5 separate regions of the Homo sapiens genome follow, and regions 2, 3, 4 and 5 are each linked to region 1. Evidence: promoter capture Hi-C in human tissues and cell types (Jung and others, 2019). All regions are on one chromosome and are shown on one strand. Each heading gives the region's core, a stretch centred on a gene start or on the middle of the fragment in contact. The rest is flanking DNA. Distances are from core to core; before and after follow the strand shown. Region 1 holds the start of NOM1 (nucleolar protein with MIF4G domain 1). Region 2 overlaps UBE3C (ubiquitin protein ligase E3C). Region 3 has its middle 5.0 kb from the start of DNAJB6. Region 4 overlaps DNAJB6 (DnaJ heat shock protein family (Hsp40) member B6). Region 5 overlaps UBE3C (ubiquitin protein ligase E3C).

The links. Contacts are between HindIII fragments. The study calls those that stand out against the background at their distance.
Region 2: a contact is called between a fragment that was not itself captured here and the fragment with the promoter of NOM1 in region 1, in 1 of the 25 tissues and cell types used here (lymphoblastoid cells).
Region 3: a fragment that was not itself captured here is called in contact with the fragment with the promoter of NOM1 in region 1 in 1 of the 25 tissues and cell types used here (lymphoblastoid cells).
Region 4: a fragment that was not itself captured here is called in contact with the fragment with the promoter of NOM1 in region 1 in 1 of the 25 tissues and cell types used here (spleen).
Region 5: a contact is called between a fragment that was not itself captured here and the fragment with the promoter of NOM1 in region 1, in 1 of the 25 tissues and cell types used here (dorsolateral prefrontal cortex).

Annotation. Positions count from the first base shown.
Region 1 is chr7:156,948,279-156,950,978 of GRCh38, forward strand. NOM1 (nucleolar protein with MIF4G domain 1) reads left to right here and starts at 1,434. Exons shown (of 11, transcript NM_138400.2): 1 at 1,434-2,446. The coding sequence starts at 1,460. RefSeq lists an enhancer at 586-1,114 and silencers at 1,175-1,524, 1,805-1,854. The HindIII fragment of the contact is 15,987 bases long and covers 1-2,700 here.
Region 2 is chr7:157,256,984-157,259,683 of GRCh38, forward strand. It overlaps UBE3C (ubiquitin protein ligase E3C), which reads left to right. Exons shown (of 23, transcript NM_014671.3): 22 at 1-61. Among named protein-coding and RNA genes, the nearest start is that of DNAJB6, 79 kb to the right of the region's middle. The HindIII fragment of the contact is 8,398 bases long and covers 1-2,700 here.
Region 3 is chr7:157,330,662-157,333,361 of GRCh38, forward strand. No RefSeq gene overlaps it. Among named protein-coding and RNA genes, the nearest start is that of DNAJB6, 5.0 kb to the right of the region's middle. The HindIII fragment of the contact is 3,436 bases long and covers 1-2,700 here.
Region 4 is chr7:157,358,262-157,360,961 of GRCh38, forward strand. DNAJB6 (DnaJ heat shock protein family (Hsp40) member B6) reads left to right here. Exons shown (of 10, transcript NM_058246.4): 2 at 286-376. The coding sequence starts at 312. Among named protein-coding and RNA genes, the nearest start is that of DNAJB6, 23 kb to the left of the region's middle. The HindIII fragment of the contact is 9,556 bases long and covers 1-2,700 here.
Region 5 is chr7:157,233,305-157,236,004 of GRCh38, forward strand. The region is part of intron 18 of UBE3C (ubiquitin protein ligase E3C); the gene reads left to right. Among named protein-coding and RNA genes, the nearest start is that of UBE3C, 96 kb to the left of the region's middle. The HindIII fragment of the contact is 7,981 bases long and covers 1-2,700 here.

The DNA of each region.
Region 1 (2,700 bases), core at 184-2,683:
TGAGCTTAGGAGTTTGAGACCTGCCTGGACAACACAGGGAGACCCTGTCTCTACTTTAAATTTATATTAAATAAATTTTATATTTAAAAAAATTCGTAAAACCTATAAGGAAAATGGACAAAGGCCATAAACAGAGGAGGAAATACAAATGGCCAGTGAACAAAGACACCCACTCTCATCAGGAACTAAATGACAAGATGCCATTTTGAGCTGACAAGTTGACAAAAATTAAATCATTTTAAAGTCAAGGACGGGCCGGGCGCGGTGGCTTGCCTGTAATCCCAGCACTTTGGTCCGCCATTGCACTCCGGCCTGGGCAACAGAGTGAGACTCGGTCTCAAGAAAAAAAAAAGAAAAAAAATTAAATTAAATTAAATTAAGTCAAGGGTGGGAACTCTGTGGAAATGAAGCTTCTGAAGCTGTCCGGGAAGAGAAGCGGCCCCTGGTCAGGCCGAGAACCCCACAGCAGCAGCCCCGTCTTCCCCCAGCTCACTGCTAGGCGAGGCTGCTCCTGCGCCTCCGGGCTTCCCAAAAATCCAGACGCAAACTGCGCGGCCTCTGCGTTCGCTTCCCGGTTCAAGTTACCCAGTAAAGAGGAACCTCAAACGCTCTGCCCTCGGGGCCCAGCGTCCAAACCCAGCCTGGGCAGGGCCGGCTCCTCAGGGGTCCTCGGCCGCCTGGGGGCCACAGGCGTCTCCCTGGTCCGTATCCAGAGCCTGCTTCTCAGGAGAACGCTGGCTCTGGGGCCAGTCCTAACCCACGAGGGCTCCTCTCGACCACATCTGCAAAGGCCCTATTTCCAAATAAGGTCGCATTCCTGGGTCCTGGGCGGACACGAACCTGGGGCCCGCGCATCCCAGCGTCGTCGCCGCCGCCAACCTCCGGCACCGCGCCGACCCGCGCGGAGTCTCCCCTCCATCATACGCGAGGATTTCCCTTTGGAGTCTCGCTCTGTCGCCCAGGCTGGAGTGCAATGGCGCCATTTCGGCTCACTGCAACCTCCGCCTCCGTGGTTCAAGCGATTCTCCTGCCTCAGCCTCCGAGTAGCTGGGATTACAGGCGCGTGCCCCCACGCTCAGCTAATTTTTGTAGGGGGGTGGGTGGGTTTCACCAGGTTGGCCAGGCTGGTCTCGAACTCCTGACTTCAGGTGATCCACCCGTCTCGGCCTCCCAAAGTGCTGGGATTACAGGCGTGAGCCACCGCGCCCGGCCGGATTTCCCTTTTAAATGTGAAGGCACCTCCATGCTCATCGCGAGCCTGACGTCCACGCGGCGCCCACCCGCGGGCGCGCCTGCCCCGGGCGCCACCTGCCCGGCTGCCCCCGCACCCGGCTCCGCGCAGCTCTGCACGCTGTCGCCCTCCGGCCAGCAGGGGGCGCCGCCCGCCCGCCCCGCGCAGCCGCCTCTTCCCCGGAAGTCCCGCCTCGGCCGGAAGTCGTGCGTCCACGCGTTTCGAAAGATGGCGGCGTCCAGGAGCGCGGGAGAGGCCGGCCCGGGCGGCTCCCAGGGACGCGTGGTCCGCATGAAGCGCAGAGGCGGGCGCGGGCCGCGCCGCGGTCCTGCTGGCGGTGGGGAGAAGGCCCTGAAGAGGCTGAAGCTAGCGGTGGAGGAGTTCGTGCACGCGACTTCGGAAGGCGAGGCTCCCGGGGGTTGCGAGGGGCGCGGCGCCCCGGTGAGCTTTCGCCCGGGAGGGAGAAAAAGCCGTAAGGAACTGAGGAAGGAGAAGCGGCACCTGCGGAAAGCACGCCGGCTGCAGAGGACGGCGGGCCCCGAACAGGGTCCCGGCCTGGGAGGCCGAAGCGGAGCCGAAGAAGCCAGCGGTCACCGGCAGGACACGGAGGAGCGCGCCCGCCCAGCCCCTAGTCGGGACCCCTCGCCTCCCAGGAAGCCGCGGCCGTCCCGGGTCAAGGCCAAGGCCACGGCCGCCACCGCAAAGACCAGACCCTCCGCAGCCGCCACCGCCGCTGCCCGGAAACGGGCGCTTTTAGCGGCGAACGAGGAGGAGGACCGAGAGATCCGAAAGCTGGAGCGTTGCCTCGGTTTGAACAAGCGCAAAAAGAAGGACGGCAGCAGCTCCGTGCCGCTGAGCTTTGCACGCGACGGTCTTGACTATATTCTGGGAGCCCTGGAGTCTGGGAAAAATAGCGGCTTGTACGACAGCAGTGGTGAGGAGGAGGAAGATGCCGGACAGACACTCCCCGAAAGTGACTTAGAGAGTGACTCCCAGGACGAAAGTGAGGAGGAGGAGGAGGGAGACGTAGAAAAGGAAAAGAAGGCGCAGGAAGCAGAAGCGCAGAGCGAGGACGACGACGAGGATACAGAAGAGGAACAGGGGGAAGAAAAGGAAAAGGGAGCGCAGGAGAAAAGGAGGGGGAAGAGAGTCCGTTTTGCAGAAGATGAAGAAAAGAGTGAAAATTCCTCGGAGGACGGTGACATAACGGATAAGGTATCGTGTGAACACTCTCTAGGCCCTCTGGGATTTCCTTCAAAATAACGGGACAGGGAATGGGGCGTGAGGCAGAAATGACACAGACTTGGTGTCTTGATAATGGTTTCAGCTGAATGTGAGTAAATCGAGTACGTTACTCTATTCGGTCTTCTTTCATGTTTTTAAATTTTCATAATGTAAAGTTTAGGAGAAAAGCAATATAGAGACATTTTTATCCCGGGGACTTAAGGGCCATTTCCACAGTGCAGCAT
Region 2 (2,700 bases), core at 164-2,663, 310 kb after region 1:
AAAGCGCAAACTGCTGAAGTTTGTAACAAGCTGCTCTCGACCCCCTCTCTTGGGGTTTAAGGTACACAACTTTCATGACATTTGCTTTAAAGACCACTTCATAATAAGAAAGGCAGCAGAACATTCAGTAGGGTTAAATGAAGTCCTTTTACATACACTTTTGTTTTTATCTTCAGCTAGATTTTTAATTAAGTACTGGTTATGATGTATATATTTTGGTGCTAGTTTTATTTGGGGTTGCTTTTTTTGTTTGTTCACAATAACCTAGTCATATGATAGTTACACATTGTGGTTATGATTGCCTGTGAACAAACCGTACATTTGGAGGGACTATTTGCAATATTAATAATGTCTCATAAATCTGTAACACATCTTGGGCTTTTTGCTACTGAACTGAAGCAGGTACAACGTAGAGATGTTGATGGAGTGTATATGCTACTGAGCCTTATTTTACCACTTCTGGAAATTAATGTTGATCTTACGTAATTTGGCTTATTTTTAGCAATTAAAATTGCCTCAGGCAGATGGATCATTTGAAGTCAGGAGTTCGAGACCAGCCTGGTCAACATGATGAAACCCTGTCTTTGCTAAAAATACAGAAAAATGAGCCAGGCATGGTGCCCTGTGCCTGTAATCCCAGTTACTTGGGAGGCTGAGGCACGAGAATTGCTTGAACCCAGGAGGTGGAGGTTGCAGTGAGCCGAGATCGCGCCACTGCACTGCACTCCAGCCTGGGTGACAGAGTGAGACCCTGTCTCCAAAAAAAAAAAAAAAAAAAAATTGCCTCAGGAACGTCTAATCATAATTCCTGTATTCACTGTAAATTAAAATAAAGCCATATTAACATTTAAAAATGCACACAGTGGTATATATATTATAGAATAATATATAATTAGATAAGTACTGTATGTGATTTGTGCTTATGAAACTTCATAGGCATTCACTTTCTTTTTTCCTTTTTTCTTTTTTTTTTTTTTTAAGTAAGATGAGCACTCGCTGTATCACCCAGGCTGGAGTGCAGTGGTGTGATCACGGCTCACTGCAGCCGCAGCCACCCAGGCTGAAGCAATCTGCCCACCTCAGCCTCCCAAGTAGCTGTGACTACAGGCATGTACCACCATGCCTGGCTGACATTTTGATTTTTTGTAGAGAAGGGTTTCACTGTATTCCCCAGGCTGGCCTCCAACTCCTGGGCCCAAGAAATCCTCTCACTTCAGCCTCCCAAGGTGCTGGGATGACAGGTGTGAGCCACCACACCATGCCCAGCTGGCATTCACCTTCAAATAACCTTCAATCAGAAAGAGTTCCTGCACACTCATGTAGTCCCAGCTACTCTTGAGGCTGAGGTAGGAGGATTAGTTGAGCCCAGGAGTTTAAGACCAACCTGGGCAATGTAGTAGCGAGATCCTGTCTCAAGGGGGAAAAAGTAATGTTAAGGTTTTTTGCTTTGTTGTTGTTGTTGCTGTTTTGTTTGTTTCTTTGTTTTTGAGACGGAGTTTTACTCTGTCGCCCAGGCTGGAGTGCAGAGGGCAATGGCGTGATTTCCGCTCACTGCAACCTCTGCCTCACAGGGTCAAGCAATTCTCCTGCCTCAGCCTCCTGAATAGCTGTGATTACAGGCGTGCGCCTCCATGCCCGGCTAATTTTTGTATTTTTAGTAGAGACGGGGTTTCACCATGTTGGCCAGGCTGGTCTCAAACTCCTGACCTCAGGTGATCCACCTACCTCAGCCTCCCAAAGTGCTGGGATTACAGGTATGAGCCATCATGCCCGGCCCCCCAAGTATTTTTTTATATTTCTGAGTGAAGCTATTCTTTAACTTTTTACTTCGAAACTATTTTAAATGTATAGAAAAGTTGTGAGAATTGACCAAATAACTTCTAAACCCGCACTGACCAATTGTTAACATTTTGCTACATTTACTTTATCATTCTTTTCATGCATTTCTTTCCTGAATCATTTGAGAATAGGTTGAAGACATGAGGTCTTCCCTAAATATCTCAGCACATACTTCCTAAGAACAGAGACAGTTTTGAAACGGCCACAATTAAATTATTACAAGTCAGGAAATTGAACTCTGACATACGGCACTTACCTTATCGAATCCACTGGCTGCACAGTGTGGTCCTGGGACCAGCAGCTGCAGCATCACTTGAGCACATGTTAAAAATGAACATTTTCAGGCCCCACTCAGACCTGAGTCAGCGCTCAGTGGGAGCGGAGCCCCGCAGTCACGTTGTGACCAGCTCTTCAGGTGTTAGGCCGGTTGTCCCTTCGCGTCCTTCATAGAATCTGATCCAGGACCACACGTTGCATTTAATTGGCGTGCTCTTTAGTTTCCTTTCTTCTGTACCCCCATTTTCAAGGGGTGCAGGCAAGTTATCTTGAGAATGTTCGTCAATGTGATGTCGCAGCCCCACCGTTGGGAGTGTACAGATGGCAACATATTTTCACACAGTGTGTTTATGAATGTTCAGAGCAAGCCTTCATAATGGCCAAAAACGAAATAATTCACAGTACATGAACTGCTAGTAAATACTATAGATTAAGAGATATTTAGAATTTAAAAGGAATAAATGATATCTACTACACTGTGTATGAACATTGAAAACACTGTGCTAAGTGAACGAAGCAAGACACAAGACTACGTATTATTATATGTAATTCCACTCGGATAAACTGTCCTTTGAAAGGCACATT
Region 3 (2,700 bases), core at 89-2,588, 380 kb after region 1:
TGCTGGGATTATAGGCATGAGCCACTGCACCCTGCCTAAAAACAATTTTTTTTTTTTTTGAGACAGTGTCACACTGTCACCCGGGCTGGAGTGCAATGGCGCAATCTCGGCTCACTGCAACCTCCGCTGCCCGGGTTCACAAGATTCTCCTGCTTCAGCCTCCCGAGTAGCTGGGATTACAGGTGCACACCACCACACCTGGCTAATTTTTTGTATTTTTAGTAGAGATGGGGTTTCACTATGTTGGCCAGACTGGTCTCAAACTCCTGACCTTGTGATCCGCCCACTTTGGCCTCCCAAATTGCTGGCATGAGTCACTGAACCTGCCAAAACAATTTTAAAGCTAAAGAAAAGTTAAAAGAATAGAATAGGCTGAGTGTGGTAGCTCATGCCTGTAATCCCAGCACTTTGGGAGGCTGAGGCAGGTGGATCACTTGAGGTCAGGAGTTTGAGAACAGCCTGACCAACATGGTTAAACCCCACCTCTACTGAAAATACAAAAATGAGCCGGGCTTGGTGGTGCATGCTTGTAATCCCAGCTATTTGGGAGGCTGAGGTGGCAGTATTGCTTATACCCACTTGAACCGTGGAGGCGGAGGTTGCAGTGAGCTAAGATCATGCCACTTCCCTCCAGCCTGGGCGATAGAGCAAGACTTCGTCTCAAAAAAAAAACGTGTGTGTATATATATACGTTTATGTCTATTAAACATATATATTTTGATATTTTTATTAAACATATATATTTTAAAAACATATTAAACATATATACCATTTTGATATTTTTTATTAAGCATATATATGTTTAACAGGCAATATATTCACATAGTTTAAAACATATTCAGTGAACATCATTTTACCCTCAGCCCCCTCTTCTCTGTATTTTCTGCCCCACTCCCCAATGTCTTAAGTGTAATTGCAGAGTTTCTTATACAAATGCATGTTCTTTTTCTTTCTCTCCTTGCTATACACACTGTTCTAATGTTTTAAACCTTGCCTTTTTTTCTTACTTAGCAATATATCTTGATGATGATAAGATAAAGTGATTTCTAAGAATATATGTGAATAATTCTGTAATACAGTGAAAGTTCCTTACTCCTGGCCTCAAGTCATCCTCCCACCTCAGTTTTCCAAAGTGCTGGGATTATAGGCATGAGAAAGTTCCTGTTTAGTGTGTTTGAATAATCAGGGATTAAGCCAATATTTGTCTTTTTTAAAGCTAACATTTCTAAAATGAGCAGTGGGTAATTTATTTTGATGGCAGGAAACGTAACAAGTAAAGCACTTATATATAGGACTCTTCAAAGGTAATCAAATTTTAGGTATTCTTTGACAGTTTTGATTTACATACTTTCCTCTGAGGGTTTGAGCACAGGGATTTCATTAGAGAAACATTAAATAAGTATGTGTGTGAGATACCACAGTTCTCATACACTGCCCTGTTTATTTCTGATACCAGTATAGTAGCTATCCGTAGCTATCCTTCTTCCTATTTTACAGATAGGGAAACCGAGGCTTGTTGATGTGGGTAAAGTCAGTGCGTCATCAGCCCTAAAGTTTTATTGGGCATCAGGGGATGTGGGCACCACAGGGAACCATGCCTCGCACCCCTGTGGCCACTCAGCCTCCAGTCTGGCCCCAGTCAGCACTGGGTCCTCTTCCCTCTGCCCTGCAGCCTCTGTGCTTGCTGGCCCATGAAGCTTCTCGGTCCACTTTTGGCCTTGAACATTTCAGCTGCCCTCAACCCCCGGGGCTCCCTGCAAGCCATTACCCCAAATCCATCCACATTCTCCACGCTCCTCCTTTCTTTCTTTTATTTTTTGAGACGGAGTTTCACTCCTGTTGCCCAGGCTGGAGTGCAATGGCACGATATCATCTCACCGTGACCTCCACCTCCTAGGTTCAAGTGATCCTCCTGCCTCGGCCTCCCGAGTAGCTGGGATTACAGGTATGCGCCACCACGCCCGGCTACTTTTTGTATTTTTAGTAGAGACCAGGTTTCACCATGTTGACCAGGCTGGTCTTGAACTCCTGACCTCAGGGGATCTGCCCACCTCGGCCTCCCAAAGTGCTGGGATTATAGGCGTGAGCCACCGCACTCGGTCTCCAAAGACTTTTCACTCCTACTTAAATCTTTTCTGGGATAAATCCTTGTCATTGAAAGACCTCGTTGTTTCAAAAGAGTTAATTAAATATTACCATTTAATCTCCAAGGTGTTTATACCTGTCCTCCCTAACTGCTATGTGAAGTCCATCAGGATGGGGACCTTGTTTTGTACTGGTTGCTTTTCTTCATGATAAAATTTATTGTATTGACATGCTTCTTAAAAATTATGTATGTATTTGTTTAGAGACAGAGTCTTGCTCTGGCACCCAGGCTGCAGTGCCATGACATGATCACTGTTCACTGCAGCCTCGACCTCCTAGTCTCAAGTGCTCAAGTGGTCCTCTTACTCAGCCTCTTGAGTAGCTGGGACTATAGGTGTGTGCCACCATGCCCAGAAAATTTTCTTTTTTCTTTTTTTTTCCTGAGACAGAGTCTTGCTTTGTCACCCAGGCTAGAGTGCAGAAGCACGATCTCTGCTCACTGCAACCTCTGCCTCCCGGGTTCAAGCAATTCTCCTGCCTCAGCCTCCTGTGTAGCTGGGAATATAGGCATGTGCCACGACACCGGGCTAATTTTTTGTACTTTTAGTAGACATG
Region 4 (2,700 bases), core at 197-2,696, 410 kb after region 1:
GAGTCTCTGCCTAGAGTCACCTGTTGTTTAGTTTAGGCTATTATTAGGCTATTTCAGAGCTTTTTTCCCCGTCTCTAGAAGGGTCTTAGGGCATGAATCTGGGAACCAGTTCCCAGACAAGGTCTTGGCCCAGCAGGCTAGTGGTTAGCTCTAGTGGAAGTTCCCTCTGTAGGCCAGTAGGTGCTAAGGTGACACCACCCCTTCCTCCCTCTCCAGACCCATCCCACCACCGTGATTTGCCCATCCCCAGCAGCCTCATCACTGACCACCTGTTTTTACTTGCAGGACCCATTCCAACAATCTCGTAAAACATGGTGGATTACTATGAAGTTCTAGGCGTGCAGAGACATGCCTCACCCGAGGATATTAAAAAGGCGTAAGTAGTTTTATTTCTGTGGTAATGCATTTTCACAGTGGTACATTGGTAATTGAGTAGTATAACTTCTTCTATTGCCTATGAAAATGGCTTTTAATGTAGTATACCAGTCTTTGAATGCCACATAGTTTAATTTGACAGAGCAGTTAACGAGCATTTGCAGTCTAGGCCTGGGCTTTGCTCTTCATTAGTCAGTCACTTGGTTTATATCTGAAGTTGATGATTGTTTCACTGAGGATGTGAGATAATCCCAAACATCTTTTACATTGGACTTTGAAAATGGAGCTGACTTGGCATTCTTGAGTGCCCCTTTGGAAGGCAGGGGCCCAGAGTACATAGCACTCAAATTTTCTTGTTGTGATTGTTGGGCTCCGGCCTATGCCACTGGAGTCCCTTCTGATTCATATGAAAGTTCGAGAACTGCAGCGCTGCCTGTGGTACCTGCATCTGTGTGACCAGGGCCTGGCCATTGTGAGGAGGGCAGTTCAGCCACAGAAGGCTCTCACGGTAACCTTAGTCTGTTTAATTAATGAGGTGTTAACTGTGAATGTAGAGTATACAGCAAAGACGTCATGAAACAGATTGTTAGATTTTAACATAGCTAGAGAGCAGTTAGCCTGGAATAGTTGGAACCAACTTAAAAAAATTGTTAATAAATAATGGAGTGTCTATACTGCTAGACTTAGTGGGTCTGAAGATAGAATTAACTTTTTTGGGGGCCAAATAGTTCATTTTGCTTAATTTTTAAATTTTAATAAAAATACAGAGTCTCAATATGTTGCTCAGGCTGGTCTCAAACTCCTGGGCTCAAGCGATTCTCTTGCCTTGGCCTCCCAGATTGCTGCGGTTATATTTGTGAGCCACTGTGTGTAGCTGAGATAGTTCATTTTAAAATGCTAAATTACGGCCAGGCAAGTGGCTCACACCTCTAATCCTAGCACTTCGAGAGGCCTAGGTGGGAGGGTCACTGGAGCCCAGGGGTTTGAGACCAGCCTGGGCAACAAAATGAGATACTGTCTTGACCAAAAAAAAATAGTTGGGTGTGGTGGCACATGCCTGTAGTCCCAACTGCTCCAGAGGCTGAGGCAGGAGAATTGCTTGAGCCCAGGAGGTTGAGGCTGCAGTGAGCTATGTTCGTGCCACTGTGTTCCAGCTTGGGCAACCAAGCCGAGACCCTGTCTCAAAAAAGCCAAGTCAGGATGGCTGACGTTGCCTGAAGGTTATTTGAAACCTCTGCCGAGGAACCTAGTAGAAGCAGTCTACTGAGGAGAGGTCAGGCAGGCCCTGATGCTGTCACTAGTAGAGTGAGGTTTCCCACACTGTGAGGAAGCCTGTGCTGCACACTTGAGGCTCACACTATTCTTATCAGTAATGTTAACAGCCAGGCATACTTGACAGATTATAAGACGAAGACAGTTGGGAATACCTTACTCCTCTCGAATAAGTTAATGGATGTATTAGTCTGTTTTTACGCTGCTGATAAAGACGTACCTGAGACTGGGAAGAAAAGGAGGTTTAATTTGACTTACAGTTCCACATGGCTGGGGAGGTCTTACAATCATGGAGGAGGGCGAAAGACACTTCTTACATGGCGACAGCAAGAGAATGAGGAAGAAGCAAAAGCGGAAACCCCTTATAAACCCATCAGGTCTTGTGAGGCTTATTATCAGGAGAATAGCACGGGAAAGACTAGTCCCCATGATTCAGTTACCTCCCCCTGGGTCCCTCGCATAACACCTGGGAGTTCTGGGAGTTACAACTCAAGTTGAGATTTGGGTGGGGACATAGCCAGCCCTTATCAATGGATAAGCATAATATGTGTACAGTGCTTTCAGTAATGATGGAAATTACATACCTTTATGATAGAGGTCATTAGAGAGTAGATTGGTTTTAGTTGTTTCTGAGAACATACAGGTTGCTGAGTGTCTCTAGCATGACGTTGAAGTAGGAATTTAGAAAAGGCTGTTACCTTTAAAAGCAGTGAGATTTCCTGCACTCCTGAGTGTACAGTTGTATAAATGCTGACTTTTAAAAATGAGCAGAATGATAGCTATGGGGGCGTGCTGTTAGTCTATCTTGTGTACCCTTGGCTTTGTGTGTTGACAGTTTTTGATTGAAGACTTAAAGGTCTGTGGCTGCCACCTGTTCTGCATCTCTCCTGAGATACCAGACTCTTCCTGGGTTTGAGTCACACACCATGGGCCTTCCTTCCTTGGTGCTGAAGTACTGGTGTGCAGGTCCAACAGATCTGAAGGTCAACATTCAAAGTCATTTGGCACTGTTTACACTTGCATATCGTGTTGTATTACACCTTGATTTTTAAA
Region 5 (2,700 bases), core at 36-2,535, 280 kb after region 1:
ATTTTGAAACAGGTCTTTCTCTGCCACCTAGGCTGGAGTGCACTGCTACAAACACGGCTCAGTCCTGCGCTTAAGGAGGCCTCCTGCTTTCAGCCTCCCGAGTAGCTGGGACCACCGTTGCTTGCTACCACACCTGGCTAATTATTTCATTTTATCGTAGAGGCAGGGTCTTGCCATGTTGCCCAGGCTGGTCTTGAACTCCTGGCGTCAAGCAATCCTCCTGCCTCAACCTCTCAAAAGGCTAGAATTACAGGTGTGAGCCACCACACCCAGTCACCGCATTTTGTTTACTTACTCATCCCAGGCTGGAGTGCAGTGGTGCATTTGCATTGGGAATTTGCATTGTTTCCACCTTTTAGCTATTGTGAATAATGTTACTGCAAACATTTGTATACAAGCTGTTATTTGGACATAGGTTTTTTGTTTTTCTTGGGCATATACCTAGACATGGAAGTGTTAGGTCATACAGTACTCCACGTCAAAGTGTCTGCAACCTTTTACAATCCCACCAACAATTTGTGAAGGTTTCAGTGACTCCACATCGTTGTCAGCACTTACTTAGTGTTGTCTTTTTCATTACAGCCATTCTAGTGGGTGGGAATTGGTATCTCATTGTGGTTTTAATTTCCCTGGTGACTAATAATGTTGACCATCTTTTCATGTGCTTCATGACTTCTGTTGAGAAATGTCTATTCAAGTCCATTGCCTATTTTTTTATTGGATTGTCTTTTATTATTAAGTCCCTGCAATGCAATGAATTATGAAATTTATATTCTCTGAGGAAGCTGAAACATTGTCAGATAAATGATTTGCAAGTATTTTCTTCTCTGGATTGTCTCTTCACTTTCATGATGATTTCCTTTGAAGAACGAACATTTTTAATTTTGAAGTCTAACGTGTTTTTTTCTTTTATTGCTTGTTTTTGATGTCTTATCCATTCCCTGACCTAAAATCACAAAGATTTACACCTGTATGTTCTTCTGACGGTGTTGTAGTTTTAGCTCTTACATTTTGGTCTTTGATCCTTTTTGAGTTAATTTTTGTAGATTGTATGAGTTAGGCATCCTCATATTCTTGGCACCCTTGTTGAAAATTAGTTGACCGTACACGTAACACTCTGGGTCTGCCCTTATGCAGTATGGTCTTGATTACTGTAGCTTTGCAGTATGGGGTGTGTGGATTTATTAATAGCAGATGGGAGTAGAACCGCAGCCTTGTTAAGCAGGGATAATGGGAAGGAATCAGTCTATCCTGGATATAGAATAATTCCCCTTTATTTGTGTCTCTTTGAAATGCATTGTCGTAGCCCCAGTTATTTCTTTGTTCAGACTCCCAGTGATTTTAAGTGCTCTTCAGGTTTGAGAAAGGGCTCCAACCTGACTTCACTACCGTAACGGTATGTGTTATATCATCATCTTCAGGCTCACCGTATTTCAGGTGGCAGATTTCAGGTGTTGATTTGATGTTGATTTGTGAGTTGGCTTTGGTGGCAGTTTTCAGATAGCATCTCTCTCTTTGTTGATGGTCACACAGCCTACTTCTCAGTTTCAGCTTCCCCTGGAGGATGTACATTTCATAATTCATTGTATGAAAATCTTTACAATGGGCCAGGCATGGTGGATCACACCTGTAATCCCAGCACTTTGGGAGGCCTAGGCAGGCGGATCACCTGAGGTCGGGAGCTCGAGACCAGCCTGACCAACATGGAGAAACCCCGTCTCTACTAAAAATACAAAATTAGCTGGGCGTGGTGGTGCATGCCTTTAATCCCAGCTACTCCAGAGGCTGAGGCAGGATAATGGCTTGAACCTGGAGGCGGAGGTTGTGGTGAGCCAAGGCCTTACCATTGCACTCCAGCCTGGCAACAAGAGCAAAACTCTGTCTCAAATTAAAAAAAAGAAAAGAAAAGAAAATCTTTACAATGAAATCCCTTAGTTCTTTCTGTTAAAGTGAGCCCAAGAACCTTCTAACTTAATATATATGTGAAAATAAAGGTGAGTGTTCTGCTAGACTAACCTGAAATACTCTAAACTTGGTGGTTTTTACACAGTACAGTCACAGAAGATAGAGCAATAATTTTACCTGCATGAATTAAATCTTAAGATTATATATTACTTTTTCTTCCTGAATGTATAAATCATCCAGTCTTGATTAATGTAGAAGCTAATAGTTATGTAAGTCTGGTGAGGATAAACTCATTTCTCCTCTGTTTATTGACATATTGCTTATAATTGAAATTATTCTGAAGATGATGTCATTGTACAGTTCTGTACTTTGGAATATGTATATATTTACAGAAGATCCAGGGAAGAGAATTTGTGATTTTAAACCTTTCTCCCACAAATGAAGTTTATGTAAGTTATATCTTATTAAGGCTGTTTAAAATAATAAAGTTTAGACCAATAACAAAACTAAGAGTAATTTGAGGATGGTAGTTAACTTAGTTTCACATATTTAAGACTTCCCTTACATTACTCTCTGTGTGGAAATTCCTAAGGGGTTACTAACTTCCAAAACATATCTGATGACCATCTGATTACAGAGTTAAACTTTGTGCTAATGTGCTAACCATTGCTCGGATCTAAGTAAGTGTCATAGTACAGCAGCTGATAGTGTGGCACCTGAACATTACATCTTCAAGAGAAGAAAACTGTATATTGATTGATTGTGATATTTATTGGGTCATAATGTATTTAAATT